Regions from separate parts of the Homo sapiens genome. Here all the other regions are linked to region 1. The links are contacts of gene promoters, found by promoter capture Hi-C in blood cells and fetal thymus (Javierre and others, 2016). All regions are on one chromosome and are shown on one strand. The core of a region is centred on a gene start or on the middle of the fragment in contact, and the rest is flanking DNA. Distances in the headings are between cores, read along the strand shown. Region 1 holds the start of CDC20 (cell division cycle 20). Region 2 has its middle 46 kb from the start of SLC2A1. Region 3 overlaps SLC2A1 (solute carrier family 2 member 1).

Region 1 (3,074 bases), core at 291-2,790:
TCTGCTGCTGCACATCCCATAGCTAGAGAGAGAAGCCCACTAGGATCAGAGATTGGGACTTGGCATTAATATCCTCCAGCTGTGCAAGCCCATTGGGACTGGTGAGAATGACAGCACTGGACACGTCTCACCTGCACCTCAGCACTGCTGGTGCCCACAGCCAAGTAGTTGCCCTCTTTGATCCAGGCCACAGAGGATATATATTCCCCAGGCTGCTCCATTTGCAAAAGCTGCAGGATGTCACCAGAGCTTGCACTCCACAGGTACACACTGTTGTCCAGTGCCACGGCCAGTACATTCCCAGAACTCCAATCCACAAGGTTCAGGTCTGTCAGAGGTGGAGAGAAGAGCATGAGCTTCCTTGTTTGTGTGGTCCCAGGCCCTCTTTCTCCATGCATGAGGCGAGGATAAGGATGCACTTACAATAGTCATTTCGGATTTCAGGCGCATCCAGGATACGGTCTGGCAGGGAAGGAATGTAACGGCAGGTCTTCCGGCTGGAGCCAGGAGTGGCCTTTTGGCTGTAGAGTACTTTCAGTCTGTTCTGATAACCTGTGGCAACGGAGTGAGTCTAGACGCTGGGAAAATCAACACCTCCCTTGCCCTCAATCTTAGATAGGAAGAGGAGACAGATATCTGTGCTCAGCCCTGGAGATGAACTGACACCTCCCTCCAGGAACCAGGAACTTCGGGTCTTACCCTCTGGCGCATTTTGTGGTTTTCCACTGAGCCGAAGGATCTTGGCTTCCTCTACATCAAAACCGTTCAGGTTCAAAGCCCAGGCTTTCTGATGTTCCTGGCATAAAGGGTAGTGAAGGAGCAAGATGGTATTATCCAAAGAACAGTCAGGTCCCGTGCCTTAAGCCCCTCTGGGACACATACCTTCTTGGTGGGCGTCTGGCTGTTTTCAGGCTGGTTCTCCTTGCTCAGGAGGAAGCTGGCCACCTCCATCTGGGCAGCACTGCGATGGGGGATATAGCGGTCACCGCCAGGTTTGCTAGGAGTGGTCTGAACCTTGGAACTGGATTTGCCTGGGGCGGAGAAAGAGAAGACAGTCTGACCAGGCTCCCCAGGGAGAAAGTATGAAGGCTGCTCTCACTCAGTTCCTTTGGCACCTCACTGACCAGGAGTTCGGCCCGGAGTCCTGCCGGCGCTGTGGGATCGGTTGGCGGCCCGCATGGGTGAGGGGGCCGGGCCTGCGGCTTCCTTGGCTTTGCGCTGCCAGCGCGCAGGGGGTGCATTGGGGATGGGTGCATCCAGCTGAAGCAGCGAGTGCAGGTCACTCTCGAACGCGAACTGTGCCATGGGAGCGCCCGCAGGGGGAGGGGTCCTTGCAGTTGGTGCCTACGGAGCCCTGGAGGAAAGGAGGCGACGGTGCTCAGGGGACAGAAAGGGACCCCTTCGCTCCTGGCCGGCCACAAAATCAGGGCCACCCTCGGCTGCAGCCCCTTCCGGCCTAGCACCCCCTCCCCCTGGCCACGGCCCCACCTCGGCTCAGCCCCACCACCTCTCACCGTGCCCTCCGGAGCAGTTCCGACCGGCTTTAACACGCCTGGCTTACGCCTCTTAAACTCTCCGCTCCGAGCGCCTATTGGCTCCTTCAAAATCCAACCGTCGCAACCGTTGCCCTAGCCCATTGGCCTCTCCGGCGAAGGGGGCGGGCCTTCCGGGGAAAGTCTCAGCTATCACGAGAGTCTAGCGGCGGAGCGCGATTTGAAGGGTACGAGAGGGGCTGGGAGCCGGCGCCAGAGGACTAGTACTGGAAAGCCGGCCGGGACAGGGCGGGGCAGGGCGGGGCCGGGTGGGGCCTGCGCTGCCTCAGCGTCCTGGAGTCGTCTCGGTTCGCCCTTTTGCGTGCCTTCCACCGCCGCGAGCTCGGAATGTCTGGCCCCGGGTGCTTCAGGGTCCGAGAACCTGCAGAAGTTCACACTTAAATCCTACACGAGAGTCGTATTTATGATGCAGAACTCGGTGCAGAACCCGATGGAGTGCCCAAGGCGCTTGAGCCGTTCCTAGAAGGGGAAGGAGAGCCGCGGGCGGCAGCGGGGCAGGGGACGGAATTGGGAAGCTTGGGAGCAGGAAGAAGGCCAGAGCTACTTAGGGTACATTCCACTTTTGCTTGGCGCCGGGTAGGAACCCTGCTAGAAAGGAAGTAACGTGTGTTTGTCTCGTTTGCTGTTGTTTTACAAACAGGGAAAATGAGGTTGAAAAGGGTGAATGAATTCCTTAAGGTCAAGAAAAAGGATCGGTATTCAAACCTGCCTATCTGGAAGATAAGCTTAGACTGCCCTACAGGAGGCACTGTGGCTTATCCCCTTGGGGCTTTAAAGATGTGAGGACCTTAGAGATCCATTAGTCTAACCTGTGCGTGGTGCAGCCTCCCCACCCCGACAACAAATCCATATTTTACAGATGGAGAAACGGAGGCCCAGGGAAGGGATGTGCCCGAGGTCATACAAAGAAGTTTGTGGGAATCCAGGTCTGACTCGCACTCAATCTAGTGCTCTAATAATGACTTGAGTGAATTGTATGAATGTGCTCAGAGGTGGAGCAGCAATCATAAAAGTAATAATGGTACCATTTATGGACCATCTAACTACTGTGTTAAAACAATTTACAGGCCATGCGCGGTGGCTCACGCTTGTAATCCCAGCACTTTGGGAGGCCGAGGCGGGCAGATCACGAAGTCAGAAGATCGAGACCATCCTGGCTAACACGGTGAAACCCCGTCTTTACTAAAAATACAAAAAATTAGCCGGGCTTGGTGGCGGGCGCCTGTAGTTCCAGCTACTCGAGAGGCTGAGGCAGGAGAATGGCGTGAACCCGGGAGGCGGAGCTTGCAGTGAGCCGAGATCGAGCCACTGCACTCCAGCCTGGGCAACAGAGCGATACTCTGTCTGAAAAAAAAAAAAAAAGTTTACATACATTATCGAGTTCAATCCTTAATCCCATAAGGCAGATAGATACCCCATCTTCCCTTTACAGAAAAAAGAAACTGGGTCAGAAAGATTAGAAACTTGCCCAAAGGCATGCAGCCAATAATAAGTAGGGGAGCCCAGGATTCAAACTATCTG
Region 2 (3,074 bases), core at 146-2,645, 450 kb after region 1:
TGATAATTTTATAAGAGCTCCCTTGTGCTTGATGAGTCACTTTACTCTTGCTGCCTTCAGAGTCTCTCTTTGACTTTTGACAGTTTATTATGTGTCTCAGGGATGGCTTCTTTGGATCATATATTGTATCCCATAAGTCCCTTAGGCTTTCTTAACTTTTCTTCATCTTTTCTTTTGTTTCCCCTGACTCAGTAATTTCAAATAACCTGTCTCAAATTTCCTGATTGTTTCTTCTGCTCAATTAGATCTGTTATGATCCCTTCTAGTGAATTGTTCAATTCAGTTATTGTTTTTTTCAACTCCAGAATTTCCATTTGGTCTTTTTCTTAACAGATTCTTTTTTTTCTTTTTAGAGACAGGGTCTCACTCTATTGCCCAGGCTGGTCTCAAACACCTGGGCTCATGTAATCCTCCTGCCTCAGCCTCCCAGAGTGCTGGAATTTCAGGCCTGAGCCACTGCACCCGGCCTCTGCGTCTTTGTTGGTATTCTGGTTTTTATGGGTCACTTCCTGGTTTCATTTGTGTATCTGATTCTCTTGTAGCCCACTGAGCCTCTTTAAGATGATTATTTTGAATTCGTTGTCAGGTAATTCATAGATCTCTGTTTCTTTAGGGTTCCATTTCTGATACATAGTTGGTCCTCTGGACCATGTTTCCCACTATCATCATATGTCTTGTTATTTTTTGCAAGAGTTTGTGGATTTGAAAAAATGACCATGTCTTCCAGTTTTAATGGATTGGCTTCATAAAGGGGAAAACCTTAAACATTCAGCTCAACTAACAGTTTGGGGGAGTGGTCTCTCAAACCTTTTCTGGAGATACGTATTCTTGGGCTTGTGCCTGTGATTTCCCAATTCGAGAGGTTTGCTGGTGTCTTTTCAGAAGCTTGTGGTCTCTTGCTCTCTCTGGTGTCTGTCTACAGTACTGCAAGTTCTCAGGGTCTACAACAAGCTGTTGATGTCTCTTGTTCTCAGCAGTCCCCAGGGGATGTGTATGTATGTATGTATATATATATATGTGTGTGTGTGTGTGTGTGTGTGTATGTGTATATATGTGTATATATATGTGTATATATGTATATATATGTGTATATATGTATATATGTGTATATATGTGTATATATACACATATACATATACACATATATGTATATATATACGTGTGTGTATATATATATATATATATAATTTTTTTTTTAACTTTATCAGCACTCAGTGTCAGGCAAGACAGAAACCGGTCCCTCAGGGAGCCCCCTGAAAAGCCTGAATGTTGGACGCACATTCTACTCTTCTGTTTCACTCTCAAGGTAGAAGCTTCAAGTTGGGCATTTACTCCTGAAAGCACCAAGCTGTACTGGCTTTGGGAAAGGGCTATTGTAGGTTAAATGAAAATGTTTCTTCTTACCCATTTTAATATAGCTGTTCTTGACTTTGAACTTGCCTCAGGCACTAGTTTCTAGAATTCTCATAAAAGCTTTTTGGACCATATATTAAGTCAGTGTCTATGGAGGAACAAGGTCTGAGATGTCCTATTATGCTGTATTACTGATGTTACTCCTCTCAGGAAGATTAGTTTTTGAAAAGAGTACATGCAGAAAGTAAAGATCGGGATTTGGACATCGATTCCCTTAAAGCTAAATATGTTCACATATTCCTTGGAAATTTTTTTGGACATCCACAGGTATGAATACCCAGTTTGAAGATAACCTTTTTGGAGGATTCAAATTAGTATTCTTTTGGCTGCCTTTGGGATTTTGTTTCCTAAGTCTGCCTTGAATGTGCTCTCAAAATACCTACTTCCTATACTGGATCTCTTCCACCCCCAAGCTGGGCACCTGGGTCAGAGGATGTGTCTGGCAGGCTTTGAATGGTATAATGGTTAATTTTATGTGTCAACTTGACTGGGTTAAGGAAGACCCAAATGGCTAGTAAAACATTATTTCTGGGTATGTTTTTAGAGTATTCCCAGAGATTAGCATTTGGGTCAGCGTACTGAGTAAAAATGATTCACCCACCCTAGTGTTAGCAGGTCTTATCCAACTCATTGAGGGCCCATCTGAATGGAATAAAAAGGTAGAGGAGGGGGGAATTCTCTCTCTCTCTCTTTAGCTGGGACATCCATTTCCTTCCTTTGGACATTGGAGCTCCTGATTCTTAGGCCTTCAGACTTCAGGAGTCAGAGCAGCAGCCACCTGGGTCTCAGGCCCCCAGCCTTGGATTGGGAGTTATATCATTGGCTCCCCTGTTTCTCAGGCTTTCAAATTCACACTGAATTTCACTACCATATTTCCTGTTTCTCCAGTGTGCAGGCAGTATATCATGGGACGGACTTCTTGGCCTCTACAATCACTTGAACCAATTCTTATAATATATCTGCCCTTAATATCTGTATAAATATCTTATTGGTTCTGGTTTTTTCGAGAACCCTGACTAATGCAGATTTCGATACTGAGAGTGGTTCTAGAGCAACAGAATTTTAAGGATGAGTTTGCTGAATTGGTTTTGGGGCTTATGGAATTGGCTCTTCAATCATCTTAGATTTCAAGATGCTAAGGACTCTATAGTAGTCTATTGCATGAACTATTTATAAAGATATGCATTAGATGCTCCTAGTTTACCAAATATAAGAAGTAAAAACCTAAGTAACTCTGTATATGATACTTTCAAACGTTTTTGGAAAACCAAGGAATATAATGCCATTGGTTGGTTGCTCCTAATGTCACTGAACAAAATGGTGAAAGAGGAGGATGAGCTCAGAGATTCAAATTACCAGCTTGAGCTTCAAATAAATGATCTAAGAGCTTCTACATGTGCCCTGAGGGAGAGCCTTATCTCCTAAAACCTCAGTACTGAAATTGCTGCAAATGAAACAGAAGATTTCATCTTGTAATTGGCTGAATTACAATGCAAATTGAACACGCAGCCTTACTACAGGGTGTAAGTAGGCAGCCTTACACCCTGCCTACTGTTGAAGTGAGGGTATTCATTGGGAAATAATGTCCCATCCAATATATTAGGATGGGGACTTAGGGGAAGACCCTAATGAAGCTGAGGACATTGAGTCTTAAATCCTGA
Region 3 (2,500 bases), core at 1-2,500, 430 kb after region 1:
ACATGGAATTGAGTTTGAGCTGTAAGTGGTAGGGGATGAGGGGCATGTGAGTTTGTGACTGGCTAAAGCAGGAATATTTAGATTCTATGAGCACGGGTATGTGTGTGTGATGGTATACGTGCATAAGAAGCCGTTTCTGGGTAACTAGGGCCTGCACTCTGCTATACGTGTGGCTGGGTGGGTCTGGCCAGTCCCATGGCACTGAGAGTGTGGTGAGTGTGCTCAGGCAGAACGGGTGCTGCCTGCCTACCACATCCGTGGGAGCTGGCCAGGGTGGGGGCAGGGCTGGTGGGCAGGGCTGCCCTAGGACGGGCGTTTCCAGTTCCTGGAACTGCTTCCTTGTGTGGAACCTTTCCCCATACCTCCTAGCTGGGCCCTTGGGAGAGGGGAGGAGGCCGTGGGTCCTTCAAGGGGGTGCTCGCAGGCCAGACACAAGGGAGCTAGGCCTGGGGAACAGAAAGCCACAGCGTGAGTCTTTCAAGCACTTCTGAAGGGTGACATGTGTGAGTTTGTCACACCAGGCCCTCAGTGCGGTCAGGGAGTCTGTACTTCCTGGATGGCGGAACCTGTCTGTCAAGCCCTGCTTCCTCCCCAGCAAGGGGTTGGGGGGAGGGCCTGATGGCAGGAGATGGGCCCCTGGGGCTTTGAGACATGGTGAGGAGAAAAGGGGCAAGTGGGAAGACCCTTTTCCTTCTGTATTTCTCTTTTTTTTTTTTTTTTTTTGAGACATAGAGTCTCACTCTGTCACTCAGGCTGAAGTGCAGTGGCACAGTCTTGGCTCACTGCAAACTCCGTGTCCTGGGTTTAAGCAATTCTGCCTTAGCCTCCCGTGTAGCTGGGATTACATGCTTGCGCCACCACGTCCAGCTAATTTTTTTTTTATTTTTAGTAGAGATAGGGTTTCACCATGTTGGTCTGGCTGGTCTCGAACTCCTGATCTCCAGTGATCTGCTTGCCTTGATCTCCCAAAGTGCTGGGATTACAGGCGTGAGCCACCACACCTGGTCTTGTACCTCTCTGTTCTATGCCTGAACTTCCACCACTGATCACTTGCCATCATCCCAGCAAGTCACACTGAGCCTGTGAAACCACAGGGCACTGGAAACCACACGTTAGGGGAAGTGGGAGAGTTGGCGGGGCTCTCAGATGAACTCCAACCCCTTGTTTCTCGCCTGGGGAAAGTGAGGCCCACAAAAATAGAGGGACTTGGCTCAAGAACATGCAGTGAATCTGTGGCAGAGCCAGGCCCTGGCCCTCTCTTAGGGAGGGGTGCAAGGGGAAAGGAAAAGGAAGACTGGGTCCTGGCCCCTGGCTTGCTCACCCAGGCTGCATCTCCCCCTGCAGGTGATCGAGGAGTTCTACAACCAGACATGGGTCCACCGCTATGGGGAGAGCATCCTGCCCACCACGCTCACCACGCTCTGGTCCCTCTCAGTGGCCATCTTTTCTGTTGGGGGCATGATTGGCTCCTTCTCTGTGGGCCTTTTCGTTAACCGCTTTGGCCGGTAAGTAGGAGAGGTCCTGGCACTGCCCTTGGAGGGCCCATGCCCTCCTGCCCAGGGAGTCCCAGATGGGGTGGGAGGTAGGGGAGACTTATCTGCCTGTTCCAGGGTATTACCTCTGACCCAGCCCCTCGGAGCCCAAGGAATGTGGGCACTGGCCTGACCTGTGACCCCGTCCCCAGGCGGAATTCAATGCTGATGATGAACCTGCTGGCCTTCGTGTCCGCCGTGCTCATGGGCTTCTCGAAACTGGGCAAGTCCTTTGAGATGCTGATCCTGGGCCGCTTCATCATCGGTGTGTACTGCGGCCTGACCACAGGCTTCGTGCCCATGTATGTGGGTGAAGTGTCACCCACAGCCCTTCGTGGGGCCCTGGGCACCCTGCACCAGCTGGGCATCGTCGTCGGCATCCTCATCGCCCAGGTAAGCTGGGGCAGGATCTACCTGCCTGGCACGGCCCCTGCCCACAGCTTCAGTGGCTCTCGGATCTGTGCCCAGCAGGGCAGAGTTTCTCTTCCGCCCAGCCCCCACAGCCTTGCAGAGGACAACTATGGTACACAGGTCCAGAGAACACAGCACCATGGCCTCCCAGTTGACAGCAAGATGACTTGACTCTTCTCAGTCCCTTTCTTCTCACTCTAGGCTTCCAACCACAGGGCCCGCCTTCCCCCAACATGCCGCAGGCTGTTATGCACAGTACCCTCTCTCCAGGAGGCTTCCCCTTCCCTGTCCCCAAAACCCTCTTGTGGCAGAGTAGCAGCCCCCATTCTCTGTGCTGGACACATCTGTGGCCTTGTCATTTGTCCTCCCAGCAACACTGTGGGGTAGGTCCTACTTTTCCCATGTGACCGATGAGGAAACTGAGAAACAGGGCTCATGCTAGTGGCAGAGCCTCTAGAACTGGGGCCCTTCCCTGAAGCAGCAGCTGACACAAAGTAGGGAAGGCCACTCTGGCAGGACGGGGTGGGAAAGGGGGTCAGGGCAGAGGCGCTCACGGC

What was found. Contacts are between HindIII fragments. The CHiCAGO score rates a contact against its expected background, and 5 or more counts as called.
Region 2: a fragment that was not itself captured here is called in contact with the fragment with the promoter of CDC20 in region 1 in 1 of 17 cell types (total B cells); the score reaches 5.3 in total B cells.
Region 3: a fragment that was not itself captured here is called in contact with the fragment with the promoter of CDC20 in region 1 in 1 of 17 cell types (neutrophils); the score reaches 6.7 in neutrophils.

Annotation. Positions count from the first base shown.
Region 1 is chr1:43,357,447-43,360,520 of GRCh38, reverse strand. CDC20 (cell division cycle 20) reads right to left here and starts at 1,540. Exons shown (of 11, transcript NM_001255.3): 1 at 1,515-1,540; 2 at 1,125-1,354; 3 at 883-1,031; 4 at 700-796; 5 at 424-552; 6 at 132-328; 7 at 1-22. The coding sequence starts at 1,305. CDC20-DT (CDC20 divergent transcript) reads left to right here and starts at 1,848. Exons shown (of 4, transcript NR_183650.1): 1 at 1,848-1,971; 2 at 2,413-2,479; 3 at 2,621-2,718. RefSeq lists silencers at 1,352-1,501, 1,692-1,801 and enhancers at 1,244-1,752, 2,092-2,151, 2,263-2,771. The HindIII fragment of the contact is 10,275 bases long and covers 1-2,070 here.
Region 2 is chr1:42,911,379-42,914,452 of GRCh38, reverse strand. No RefSeq gene overlaps it. Among named protein-coding and RNA genes, the nearest start is that of SLC2A1, 46 kb to the left of the region's middle. The HindIII fragment of the contact is 160 bases long and covers 1,316-1,475 here.
Region 3 is chr1:42,930,051-42,932,550 of GRCh38, reverse strand. SLC2A1 (solute carrier family 2 member 1) reads left to right here. Exons shown (of 10, transcript NM_006516.4): 3 at 1,345-1,505; 4 at 1,685-1,925. Among named protein-coding and RNA genes, the nearest start is that of SLC2A1, 28 kb to the left of the region's middle. RefSeq lists an enhancer at 243-412. The HindIII fragment of the contact is 5,614 bases long and covers 1-2,500 here.